Regions from separate parts of the Homo sapiens genome. Here all the other regions are linked to region 2. The links are contacts of gene promoters, found by promoter capture Hi-C in blood cells and fetal thymus (Javierre and others, 2016). All regions are on one chromosome and are shown on one strand. The core of a region is centred on a gene start or on the middle of the fragment in contact, and the rest is flanking DNA. Distances in the headings are between cores, read along the strand shown.

Region 1 (4,355 bases), core at 919-3,418, 140 kb before region 2:
TTCCTACTTTTATTTATTTGGGTCTTCTCTCTTTTTTTCTTATTCTGGCTAAAGATGATTTGGAGCTCCTTTATATGCTGCTTGCTTCTTTTCTCTTGCTGCCATTACAGTTTTATCTTTATGCTTGATCTTTGACAGTTTGATTAGTAAATACCTTCATTAGTCTTATTTGACTAATGTGATGCTCTAAGGCCTTCCTGTACCTGAATATTTATATCTTTCTCATGTTTTGGAAAGTATTCTCTTATTATTTCTTTGAATAAGCTTTCTACCCTTGCTCCTGCTCTGCTCTCTCTTGAACATCAATAATTTTTAGATTTTGTCTTTGAGGTAATTTTCTATATCTTGTAAGTGGCCTTCTCTCATTTTCATTCTTTTTTTCTTTTCTCTCCTCTGTTTATTTTTTAACAGCCAGTCTTTGAGCTCATTGATTCTCTTCTCTGCTTGACCTATTCTGTGGTTGAGATCCCCTGAAGAGTTTCTTAGTTCAGCAAATGTAGTTCTTAGTTACAAGATTTCTGCTTATCATTATTTCAATTTCCTTGTTAAATTTCTCTGATAAATATCTGAGTTGCTTTTCTGTGTTATCTTAGAGATAACAAAGTTTCCTTAAAACAGCTGTTTTGAATTCTTGGTCAGAGAGTTCACAAATCGCCATCTCAGGAGGGTCAGTCGCTGGAACTTTGCTTTGTCTAGAAGGTTATGGTTCCATGTTTGCTGTTGTTTCTTGTGGGTATACATCTATGTATTTGTATTAATAATTATTTAGTCCAGCTTTATCTGTCTAGTTTGGTTTGGTTTTTATTGAATACAGTTGCTTATGAATCTTAACTGCCAGCTTGCTGCCTTGTTTTCGGCTCTAGATGGCGCCATAAGCCTATGTTTACCTTGACTTTTGCAAATGGCCATGGCACTGCCTGTCCCATAAGGAGGAGGACCAAAGGGATTACCCTAGCACTGTGGGAAGGCCGGCCACGGGTGTGTTCCCAGGGGACTTGTGGAACATACTTGCTACATGATTTCTACTGATTTGGCATCTCCTTTGGTCAAGTTACAAGGAGTTTTTACGGCTGAGGATGGTAGTCCTGGCTTCCCTATTTGTCTTTGCCAGCCTTCACAGACATTTCTCCCTCCAGGCAGTCACAGTGCTACCTGTGGTTTAAGGCAAAGGCAGGTCTCCTGGCAGGAAACCGAAGAAGATGGGAAAGCTGGTTGACAATCTCAATTTCACGTTTTTCAGTGCAGAAACCATGAGTTGAGGGCAGATTTTTCATACTGCTGATGCCTGGTGTAATGCAGGGAAGAGGCCTCATGGATGTAGAATCTGGTTCTCCTACCATCTGCTCAGAATGTTTCCACTTCTCTGTACCTACAGGAACTGTCTCATCCTCATACAGGATCTCTGGGTTGCTGCTGGTGAAGATCTTGCTGCTGTGTATTTCTTTTTGGTTTCTGGTGGAGGGGAGAGAAGCAAGCTTGCTTCTATGCTGCCATTTTGGGATTAGAAAACCGATATGTGAACTTTATAACTAAGAATTCAAAATAGCAATTTTAAGGAAACTCAGTGACCTACAAGATAACATAGAAAAACAATTCAGATACTTATCAGAGAAATTTAACAAGAAAATTGAAATAATAATTTAAAAATGAAACAGAAATCTTGGAACGGAGAACCACATTTGCTGAATTGAAACACTCTTTAGAGGATCTCAATAACAGAATGGGTTAGAGAAAAGAATCAGTGAGCTCAAAGACTGGCTATTAAGAAAATACAGTCCAAAGAAAGAAAAGAAAAAAACAATAAAAAGAAATGAAGGCCACCTTTAAAATATAGAAAATTACCTCAAAAGACCAAATCTAAAAATTATTGGTGTTTAAGGGGGAGCTGAGCAAGAGCAAGGGGAGAAAAGCTTATCCTAAGAAATAATAACAGAGCACTTTCCAAAACTCATGAAAGACAGAAATATCTAGATATAGAAAGGTCAGGGAACACCAAACAGATTCAACCCAAGTAACACTAACCAAGGCATATAATAATTGAACTTTCAAATATCAAAGACAAAGAGAAGATCCAGAAAGCAGCAAAAGAGTAAAATAACAAAGCAACTCCAGTTCATCTGGCAACAGACTTCACAATGGAAACCATGTAGGCCAGAAGGAAATAGGGCAGCATTAACAAAGAGAAATTGTCTTTCACAGACAAAAGCTAAGAGAATTCACCACTACTAGACCCGTCTTGCAAGAAATGCTAAAGGGAATTCTTCAACCTGAAATTAAAAAATGCTAACATATTAGTGTACTAACTAAAAGAAAATATTTCAAGGTATAAAACCCACTGGTAAAATTAAGTATGAACACAACCCCAGAATATGCTAATAATTTAATTGTGGTGTGCAATCCAATCATAACTCTAGTAAGAAGCTTATAAAGACAAATCTATCAAAAACAATAATAGCGACAACAACCTGTTCAAAATAGATATTTTTAAAATATGCGAACTGATATAATAAAAATTCAAAGTGTTTGTGGGAGGTGTGGAGTTAAAGTGTAGAGCATTTTTTTCATTATTATTATACTTTAAGTTCTGAGATACATGTGCAGAATGTGCAGGTTTGTTACATAGGTATACATGTGCTATGGTGGTTTGCTGCACCCATCAACCCGTCATCTACATTAGGTACTTCTCCTAATGGTGTCCCTCCCTTAGCGCCCCACCCTCTGACAGGCCCTGGTGTGTGATGTTCCCCTCCCTGTGTCCATGTGTTCTCATTGTTCAACTCCCACTTATGAGTGAGAACATGTGGTGTTTGGTTTTCTGTTCTTGTGTTAGTTTGCTGAGAATGATGGTTTCTAGCTTCACCCATGTCTCTGCAAAGGATGTGAACTCATCCTTTTTTATGGCTGCATAGTATTCCATGGTGTATATGTGCCACATTTTCTTTATCCAATCTATCATTGATGGGTATTTGGGTTGGTTTGACATCTTTGCTATTGCTATAGTGCTGCAAGAAACATACCTGTGCATGTGTGATTATAGTAGAATGATTTATAATCCTTTGGGTATATATCCAGTAATGAGATTGCTGGTCAAATGGTATTTCTGGTTCTAGATCCTTGAGGAATCGCTACATTGTCTTCCATAATGGCTGAACTAATTTATTCTCCCACCAACAATATAAAAGCATCCCTATTTCTCCACTTCCTCTTCAGTATCTGTTGTTTCCTGACTTTTTAATGATTGCCATTCTAACTAGTGTGAGATGGTATCTCATTGTGGTTTTGATTTGCATTTCTCTAATGACCAGTGATAATGAGCTTTCTTTTTATATATGTTTTTTTGGCCGCATAAATGTCTTCTTTTAAGAAGTGTCTGTTCACATCCTTCACCCACTTTTTGATGGGCATGTTTGTTTGTTTTTCTTGTAAATTTGTTTAAGTTCTTTGTAGATCCTGGATATTAGCCCTTTGTCAGATGGATAGATTGCAAAATTTTTCTCTCATTCTATAGGTTGCCTGTTCACTCTGATGATAGTTTCTTTTGCTGTGCAGAAGCTCCTTAGGTTAATTAGATCCCATTTGTCAATTTTGGCTTTTGCTGCCATTGCTTTTGGTGTTTTAGTCATGAAGACTTTGCCCATGCCTGTGTCCTGAATGGTACTGCCTAGGTTTTCTTCTTGGGCATTTATAGCTTTAGGCCTTATGTTTAAGTATTTAATCCATCTTGAGTTAATTTTTGTTTAAGGTGTGAGGAAGGGGTCCAGTTTCAGTTTTCTGCATATGGCTAGCCAGTTTTCCTAACACCACTTATTAAATAAGGAATCCTTTCCCTATTGCTTATTTTTATCGTTTGTCAAAGATCAGATGGTTGTAGATGAGTGGTGTTATTTCTGAGGCCTATGTTCTGTTCCATTGGTCTGTATATCTATTTTGTTACCAGTACCATGCTGTTTTGATTACTGTGGACTTGTAATATAGTTTGAAGTCAGGTAGCATGATGCTTGCAGCATTTTTCTGTTTGTTTAGGATTGTCTGGGCTATATGGGCTCTTTTTTGTTTCCACATGAAATTTAAAGTAGCTTTTTCTAATTCTGTGAAGAAAGTCAATGGTAGCTTGATGGGATAGCATTGAATCTATAAATTACTTTGGGCAGTATGGCCTTTTTCACAATATTGATTCTTCCTATCAATGAGCATAGAATGTTTTTCCATTTGTTTGTGTCCTCTCATTTCCTTGAGCAGCGGTTTGTAGTTCTTCTTGAAGGGTCCTTCACATCCCTTGTAAGTTGTATTCCTAGGTATTTTATTCTTTTTGTAGCAATTGTGAATGGGAGTTCACTCAGGATTTAGTTCTCTGT
Region 2 (4,584 bases), core at 653-3,152:
AAGTCACGAAACCTTTCCAGGGCGAGTTAATTTGGAAGTCTGCTTACTTCTAAAGTAAACTGTCAAATGTGGTCTGTAGGTTATCGCATTTAAAAACAGGACCTGAGAACTTGAGTAGACATAGTAGATAACTATTAAACAATAGGGAAAATTGGCTTGAAAACAAAAACATGATTTAAAAAATTACTATATTCATCTTTTTGATAGAGAGTAATTTTGAACATTTAGTATTTTAAGCATTTCTTCTAAAATTTAAGGATATGAAAAGTAAGAAAAGAATATGGAAAATTTAAATAATATTCTGTGAGACTTATACATAGTTGTAAAAGGAAGAAAACTTGTTGCCAGTGCCACTTACATCTGCCTCTTCTTTATTGACAATCTTCCAAATAAATTTAAATAGCATAGTTGCTTTGGGTCCTGTCGAGTTTGGCCTGGAATTGTAGGTGATTAGAAAGGATAGGGAAGCTTTCATGTGATACGTATTCATTGATTTATTAATTATTTAAGACCTACTTTATATTGAAGTATCCTACATGTTATAGGATACATGAGACATTCAAACAAACACAGGACATGCCACTCCCTACAAAAGTGCATGGTTCAATTGAGGAAGGAAGTCTTACAGATGGGACAGAGAACCAGAAAATAACATAAAGCCAACATGTAATGTGTAGGTCCACCTCTCTATCTTTGTAGGGATATAGCATTTCAGACCAAAACCTTTAATTTGGGTCTGAGAATTCAGGAACAAATATTTTCCTTGGTAAGGACATTTCTTGCACAATTTCTAATAGTGCAAAATTGGAAACACCGTGAAGGGCACCAACAAGGCAAGGTTGAGTAACTATTGTTCTTATCACAGGACGTCACATGGTCATTAAGAAGAATGGGGGAAAACTACATTAAGATGACCTGAAAAGATAAGGAACACATATTTTTTGAAGGATAAAAGTCAGCTGTATAGTGATCCATATACAATACTTCTATGTATATGTGTACCTCTATGTCTTAAACGTGTCTCATTGTATACATATACATGTGTGCATATAAGTGCAGACAGAATTGAAAACTAATGCAAAATTGTTACCAGTGTTTACCACTGAATAGTAGGAATGTGGAGAAATGATGAAGAGAAATTTGTGTTTTATTTCAAAGACATCTGCAGCATACGAATCTTTTGCAATAAATTATATAATTTTTCTGTTAAATTAAAAATAAAAAGAAAAATAAATATGCTGGGTCCTACTTTTTAGGTATTCTTAGGTGGTAGAAACAAGTAGCTTCTTTTGTAATATAAAGGAGGATGAGTTTCATTTGTAGTTTCTAGATGAAATTACAAAAGATAATATAGATTGAAGGCAGAAAGAATCCAATAAGCTAAAATCCAAAGACAACCTTTGACGGTAATTGGCTCTTATTTTACTTACATGCTCCAAACCAATCCCAATATTTATCAACATTCATGAAAAGAACATTTGCTTTCTTTGGCAAGCAAAGATAACTTTCTCTTTCAAGGGCCACATGTTTGTGCCTTCAGGTGCTCCTAAAGTTTCTATTAAGCCTAAAAACTGCAGTATAGAAAAGGCAGGGCGTATTGTTATAAATCATACAAAGAAAATGCATGTAGTATTTCAGTCTAGTTCTTACCTTCCTGAACGGAGTTCTTACACAGGTGTAAGGAAGATAAGTATTGAGAAAGGGAGAGTGGGAATGTGAAGTGATGCACATTAAGCAAGTTAGTAGGAATTTGACCTGTCTGGTCTTTCTCTGGGTTGGGCACAGCTTCAAATGCTTATGTGTGTATCACCACATACCCTCACTTCCTCCTTTCCTACCTCTTCCTTCTTACTGGCTTTGAGAAAGAGCATATAAATGACATCTTCAGGGCATGAGAAGCCACTTATCTGCAGACTTGTAGGCAGCAACTCACCCTCACTCAGAGGTCTTCTGGTTCTGGAAACAACTCTAGCTCAGCCTTCTCCACCATGAGCCTCAGACTTGATACCACCCCTTCCTGTAACAGTGCGAGACCACTTCATGCCTTGCAGGTGCTGCTGCTTCTGTCATTGCTGCTGACTGCTCTGGCTTCCTCCACCAAAGGACAAACTAAGAGAAACTTGGCGAAAGGCAAAGGTAGAGGCCCTGCTTCTCTGCACTTGTTGCTGCTTCTGCTACACCTGTCTCTGGGGTAAAGACTAGCTTGGTGCCTTTGGGGCTGGAGAGGGCCATTATACCAATAACTCCAATTGGAGGAGACACACAGGGGGGTCACTTCTCACTTCTTGTGTGCTGGGCAATCTTCTGGGCACTTTACTAAAGCGTTACAGATCATATTCACAATGGCTTTATGAGAGAGGTACAATTGCCCTCAATCTGCAAATAAGAGACCTGAGGAAAATATTCATGACCACCAATAGGTCACATTTTCTACCCTAGAGGAAAGTCTAGACAGTGACTTGTATGCTGAACTCCGCTGCATGTGTATAAAGACAACCTCTGGAATTCATCCCAAAAACATCCAAAGTTTGGAAGTGATCGGGAAAGGAACCCATTGCAACCAAGTCGAAGTGATGTAAGTTGCTGTTTCTGTGCTATTGCCTTATCAGAGAAACCCTCTACCTCCATCCACATATGCACTCGTTTCCTCCAGTCTCATGGATTAGTTCTGATATTCAGATCAGGACACCCACAGATAACCCTGTTCTCTTTTGCAGAGCCACACTGAAGGATGGGAGGAAAATCTGCCTGGACCCAGATGCTCCCAGAATCAAGAAAATTGTACAGAAAAAATTGGCAGGTGATGAATCTGCTGATTAATTTGTTCTGTTTCTGCCAAACTTCTTTAACTCCCAGGAAGGGTAGAATTTTGAAACCTTGATTTTCTAGAGTTCTCATTTATTCAGGATACCTATTCTTACTGTATTAAAATTTGGATATGTGTTTCATTCTGTCTCAAAAATCACATTTTATTCTGAGAAGGTTGGTTAAAAGATGGCAGAAAGAAGATGAAAATAAATAAGCCTGGTTTCAACCCTCTAATTCTTGCCTAAACATTGGACTGTACTTTGCATTTTTTTCTTTAAAAATTTCTATTCTAACACAACTTGGTTGATTTTTCCTGGTCTACTTTATGGTTATTAGACATACTCATGGGTATTATTAGATTTCATAATGGTCAATGATAATAGGAATTACATGGAGCCCAACAGAGAATATTTGCTCAATACATTTTTGTTAATATATTTAGGAACTTAATGGAGTCTCTCAGTGTCTTAGTCCTAGGATGTCTTATTTAAAATACTCCCTGAAAGTTTATTCTGATGTTTATTTTAGCCATCAAACACTAAAATAATAAATTGGTGAATATGAATCTTATAAACTGTGGTTAGCTGGTTTAAAGTGAATATATTTGCCACTAGTAGAACAAAAATAGATGATGAAAATGAATTAACATATCTACATAGTTATAATTCTATCATTAGAATGAGCCTTATAAATAAGTACAATATAGGACTTCAACCTTACTAGACTCCTAATTCTAAATTCTACTTTTTTCATCAACAGAACTTTCATTCATTTTTTAAACCCTAAAACTTATACCCACACTATTCTTACAAAAATATTCACATGAAATAAAAATTTGCTATTGACTTGTTGTCATCTATTATTAATTTTAACAGGATTGTTGGGGAAAAAAAGCTTTAATTTTCCTCTCTTTTTTGTATACTTGGTATTTCACAGTTTGAACAACAAAAGTTACTAAATTGATGATCGGTGTCATTCTTAATGTAGTATGATAACAGTTCCAATTTATTAATCATTTTAATATGCCAGGAATACTAAGTGTTTTCCATGCATGAACTAAACAATTTTTTAAAAGATAGATATGATCTGGTTAAAAGAACATCCTCTGGAGTTTGAATAATGAGGTAACCTGGCTCTGCCACTTGTTAGCTGTGTATATCAGGTCATGTTGCTTAATTTCTCTGTACCTTAGGTTCTTCATCCCTAAAATGGGGATAATATTGCCTCCCTCATAGAGTTTATGGAAGGATTAAAAAAGTTAATAAATTTAAGGTATTTAAAATAATGTGTGTCATAAATAAGCCACACATAAATGTTAGTAATTATTTCTTATGATTATTATTATCCTCCCCAGTGTTACAGAAGAGAAAAATCAAGTTTATAGAGTTTAAAATACTTGCCCACTTTCAGATAACTAAGTAGGTAACAGAGTGGGAATTTCAAATTGTGCTCTTAACCACCACACCACAGTGCTTTCCTCAACTCTTCTTTCTCTAATGAAGAGATTACATTACATATAACATAGTATTATTCACACATGTAATACAACTTGATACATAAATAGCATACTGTATATACTATAATAATTATAGGGTATCAGGCATCTCACTCATTATGTTTAGTGGTTTCCCACTGAAACTTGACAAGACCAGCTCCTGAGACATGGCACAGTGTTGACACCATGCTTATACCTCCCGAGATGCAGATGTCTTCTGTTTTTGAGTGCATGTATTGAGTTACTCTGTTTACATGCAGAGAAAGAATGATTCAGTTGCC
Region 3 (4,974 bases), core at 1,326-3,825, 220 kb after region 2:
ACTAAGGAATGAGAAATAAGCCAGGCATGGTGGCCCACACCTGTAATCCCAGTGCTTTGGGAGGCTCAGGTGGGAGAATTGCTTGAGGGCCAGGGGTTCAAGACAAGCCTACGCAACATAATGAGACTCTATTTCACACAAAAAATAAAAAATTAGCCAGGCATGGTAGTGTGCACTTGTAGTCTTATCATCCCTCAGGCAGGAGGATTGTTTCAGCCGAGGAGTTTGAGGCTGCAGTGAACAGAATCATGCCACTGCACTCCAGCCTGAGCAACGAGAGAGACCCTGTTTCCTAAAAAAAAAAGAAGATAGACAGAAAGAGAGATGATATGATATTAGTTTTGATAAATATACCATGATTATAAAAGATGTTAACATTAGACGTTAAGTGAAATGTGTATAAGTGAAGTCTGTACAATTTTTACAACTCTTCTTTAAATCTAATATTATTTTAAAATCAAAATTTAAAAAAAACAAATGCCTACAATACATTATTTTACTATTGTCATAATGAAGCAAGAATTTTTATAAGTAGATAAAAATACATAGATAACACACACTTAGGGAGGTTATATATCTTTATTTCCTGTATGTTTGGGGGCCCAGGATATTAGGAATTAAATTTACTGGGTATATATAATAATCCTTAATACAACATGAATTATCCAGAAAGACGTATCTACTTAAAATATATTTAGCATTTAGTTAGGTTTATTCCAAGTGAAAAGAGAAAATATAGACAATCTTTAATGCATTCTTAACTTTTTCTATATTCTTTCTACAACCCCAATGACCCAGACACATTAAAATTACTTAATTATTGTTTATTCCTGGATGTTAGGGAACTGAAACTTCTTTCAAGTTCTCAAAATATCTCCACATAAATGCTTGTGATATATTGCTTTGTGACTATATTAGTACAAAGTCACAAAAATAAATTCAGGAACTCAGAAAATCTATCCAAATTAACAAAGTATAGACAATTCACAGTGATATAACAATAATTTTTTAAAGCCTGCATAGAAAATTCAAGTGGAATATTTTTAGAGGATCATAAAATTTGCGATATTGTCTGAGATTCATTCTGAGGCACTCGGGTTGAAGACTTTAACATATGAATTTAGGAATAGGGGAAAAGTTTAGCCCCCAGCATAGTCCTTGTAGTAAATTGGTGCTATTTCGAAGCTTTCTAAAAATAGCATAAATTAGTAAAGTTGTACTAACTATTTATATTTCCAAAGTGGAAGACGATTTTGACAAATTAGCAATAAATACATAAGTCAGTGGGGGAAAGTTTTAAGAAACACAGTGTTTTACAACTGTTTCATGAAGAGTCACTCAAGATACCTTAATTATTATTCACTAAGTGATGTGTGTGGAACCAGTGAAGGCTCCTGAGTCAAAGGTCAGAGCTCTCCTCTCTGTGTTCCTGCCATACTGCTTTATTTTTATTTATCCTGTAAGAGCATGGACAACAATGATCCTACACCCTTGTAATACAGCACTTAGCACAGTGTTCACTGTTGGTGTTCAATAAATAGCACTTCTTTACTCTCACCAGGAGTCCCTAAGAAGAATGCATGAATTAATTTGAGGCACATTAACATCAGCTATTCAGACTGCTTCTTATCATGTGGACATGTGAGGTGGTAGAGACAATAATAGCTTGCACTACTGAATTAGATAAAACATATTTTATCAACAAAATGGTACATGCTCACCATTGTTTCTGAACATTTATTGACACACTTCTTTTTTGAGAGGAGTGGGTTCAAGATAAATTTTCTATTCTTGAAAGATAGATGATAGATAATAGATCAACATAGTTGATACATATATCTAAGATACAATATATAATATTTATTATATATCTTGTCTTCTCTATGGCCATACATCCTGAACACACCCAATCTCATCTGATCTCCAAATGTTTAAAAATTATTACATGCCATCATTTTGAGCAACATCCAGGTGATCTTACTGTGTCAAAAAGGGAAGAAAAAGAAATCATAATAAGGAACGGTGCAGACCTGGCTTCACTAAGGTGGAGATGGCCAATGCAAGGACACAGAGAAACCATCTCATGTATATGCCACAAGTAGCAAGGATTCCCAGAAAACGCATGAAGAAATAAAACTATCCTCCCTAATAGTTCTGTCAGCCTACTCATGAAAGCATGTCTTTTGGTAGTGAAGAAGAATATTTCCCTGACCCTTTCACAGGACTCACAACAGAGGTGCCTCATTTACTCAGTCAGCAGCTTTCAACTCTTGTGGGAGGGAGCACGCTATCAAATGAGGCAGGAACTGGATTGCATGAGCCCTGGAACCAGCTGGCTGCTTTGGTGCCAGCAGGAGCAAACTCCACTCACTTGCACCTGCTGTGTTCCACCCCTTTCAGGAGGGAGTGCACAGGTGAGCGAGTGCAGGAGCCAGGGCAAGCACATTTAGGCACTGGCAGGAGCAAACTCCATGTGGGCTTTGCAGCAGCATCAATGGGATGGTGCCTGTGACCCCTGAAGTCCCAGAGGACATGTTACAGTATTCTTTTAGCTCTCCCATCCACAGACAGCTAAAATGTTAATAGTTCAGTGGGACTTCTTTCTTTTCATGTGAGGTGGCTGCCTTCTGCCAGCGAGGGAAAAGGGCCAGTATGAAGCCTTTTGTATTCACACTTGTGGCTCCCAAGCTGTTGTCAGGTGTCCACGGAAAATGATGTCGCATGAATGATTTAAAGGATGGTAAATGTGGGAGATTTTATTGCCAATGAAAGTGGCTCTCAGTGGGAAAGAGAGCTGAAAAGGGGAAGTAATCTTCCCCTGAAGTCCAGCCATGTTCAGCAGGATTCTTCTCCAAAGTTACGTGGTCAAGCCATCCCTCTGAAGTCAAGCCACTTCTCTCCAATGTCTAGCTGTAGTCCCCAAGGTCCAGCTGCTTCTTCCCTCTGCTGGCTGAGTCTGGAGTCATTATAGGCACAGGATGGGGTGGGGCAGGGTCATGGGTGACTTAGGAAAAGGCAAAGTTCGCATGGGAAAACAGTTCTCACTTTGGCCATGGTCTCGGGCTTTTCAGCTTGAGGATAGGGCTTCACCAGGGACCTGCCCTTTTTTACCTAGAATTTCTCTGCCTCCTTTCCCCATCATTTCCCTTTTCAAAGCGGAACATCTCACTGCCATTAGAATACAGACAATGACCGATCTTAGCTACTTTCTGCTTACTGGGGACACTGTTTTGAAGAAAACAGTGGTCAGATTTCCCTCAGAGGTTTACCTAAGGGCCTCTGGTAAAAGGGAGCCATTGTCCGAGGCTCCAGTTACATGACCCTTTGGAATTTGATCGCCTTTAGGTGAGAAGAAACAAGTTTTACAGGGATAAGTTTGCATGGATCAAATATATGTATTATACAAAACGGGGTTAAAAGGAGATAATCTGGTGACAAAGTTTACAGAAATAAGAAGTAAAATATACTATTCCTTCTAGACACAATATTGTATCCTGCAGTATAGAACAGAATAAAGGTAAAAACAGCGAACATAGGCAAGACTATAAAGAGGATATCCATGGAAGTTTAACACTTATCTTTTGTAATTTTTAGCTTGAGGTCCCCAACCTCTTCATATTGGTACTTTGGGTACTCTTTGGGTTCATCAGCTTCCCAGGCATTTACATGGGTGTAATAAATTCAAGAATCTATTCCAGTGACCTATTGTAAAAGACAGGTGGCTGCTTTCAGGAGGTTCTCTAAAGTACTATCTGGTCCCAGGGCCTGTTTCTGCAGCTTCCTCCTGATCTCAGGGGCTGCCTGAGTAATAAATTTATCCTTTAGGATTAGTTGTCCCTTAACTGAATCAGGAAGTAGAGAGTTGTGCTTCACCAAGGCCTCTTTTAACCTTTCCAGGAGAGCAGTGGGATTCTCATCAAATACCTGGTCTATCATGGATAACTTAGAATAATTGAGAAGCTTAGTTCTAGTCCTACATAATCCCTCCATTATGCACACCTGAATGTGTCTCCTCTTCCATTCTCCCATCTTGTCAGTGAGATCCCATTTAGGGTTATCCAACGGTACTGCTTCTCTTCTAGTTGGATAAAGTTTGACCCCTTCCCTGACACTGTATGTAATAGAAAGCTCATTCCCCAAATCTCTCTGCCACTTGCAGAGTAGCCTGCTTCTCAGTGTTAGTCAGGCTTTGATTCAAAAGTAGCATAACATCTTCCCAGGAGAGTTCAAATACTTGAGTTAAGTTCTGGAAAGCCTCTATACATCTGTCAGCATCATGTGAAAACTTGCCAAGATCCCCCTTAATTGGCCTTAAGTCCTTTAGAGGGAAAGGGACCTGGATCTTACCAGGGACCAAATTCACCAGGCATCTGTTGGAGGGGCAAGAGTGGGACTGGGGCTTATCTAGGGTGAGGATTTCTAGGAGGGAGCAAACAGGAGAGATAAACTGGATAGGGAGGATGGGGTGGACCAAGAGGAGCAGGCAAGAGGGAGCTGGCTCCATTGCTAGAGGGGCCTCTGGGGTTCACCTCTTGTAGCCTTTCTGTGCATTGCAGAAAGGAAAATGATCAGATTATTTGGGGAATACTGGTCACTGGCTCTTAGCTGACATTCATTCCAGGGAACCCAAAATGCCACTGTGGTCCTCCAGTTAAAGTAGGGGCTTATGTAGGTCAGGTAATGTATGGAGTTTTAGCTAATGTCCCACTTCCAGTCAGTCCAATGGGTACCCAGACTCATCCTGTGGTTATTTCCCCAGTGCCAGAATCCATAATTCGCATAGACATACTTAGCAGCTGGTAGAATCCCCACATTGGCTCCCTGACTGGTAGGGTGAGGGTTATTATGGTGGAAAATGAAAGGCAGCTCAAATGGAAGCCATTAGAGCTGCCTCTACCTAAAAAAATAGTAAGTCAAAACAATATTGCATCCCTGAAGAGATTGCAGAGATCAGTGCCACCATGAAGGACTTGA

The links. Contacts are between HindIII fragments. The CHiCAGO score rates a contact against its expected background, and 5 or more counts as called.
Region 1: a fragment that was not itself captured here is called in contact with the fragment with the promoter of PPBP in region 2 in 1 of 17 cell types (megakaryocytes); the score reaches 12.0 in megakaryocytes.
Region 3: a contact is called between a fragment that was not itself captured here and the fragment with the promoter of PPBP in region 2, in 1 of 17 cell types (neutrophils). The highest score is 6.1, in neutrophils.

The regions. Positions count from the first base shown.
Region 1 is chr4:74,130,952-74,135,306 of GRCh38, reverse strand. All of the region lies in intron 1 of LOC105377277 (a long non-coding RNA gene), which reads left to right. It also overlaps a transcript of MTHFD2L not described here. Among named protein-coding and RNA genes, the nearest start is that of MTHFD2L, 25 kb to the left of the region's middle. The HindIII fragment of the contact is 511 bases long and covers 1,913-2,423 here.
Region 2 is chr4:73,985,508-73,990,091 of GRCh38, reverse strand. PPBP (pro-platelet basic protein) reads left to right here and starts at 1,902. Exons shown (of 3, transcript NM_002704.3): 1 at 1,902-2,136; 2 at 2,440-2,575; 3 at 2,718-3,653. The coding sequence starts at 1,989. The coding sequence ends at 2,820. RefSeq lists an enhancer at 4,223-4,584. The HindIII fragment of the contact is 3,234 bases long and covers 471-3,704 here.
Region 3 is chr4:73,768,466-73,773,439 of GRCh38, reverse strand. No RefSeq gene overlaps it. Among named protein-coding and RNA genes, the nearest start is that of CXCL8, 30 kb to the right of the region's middle. The HindIII fragment of the contact is 2,775 bases long and covers 1,188-3,962 here.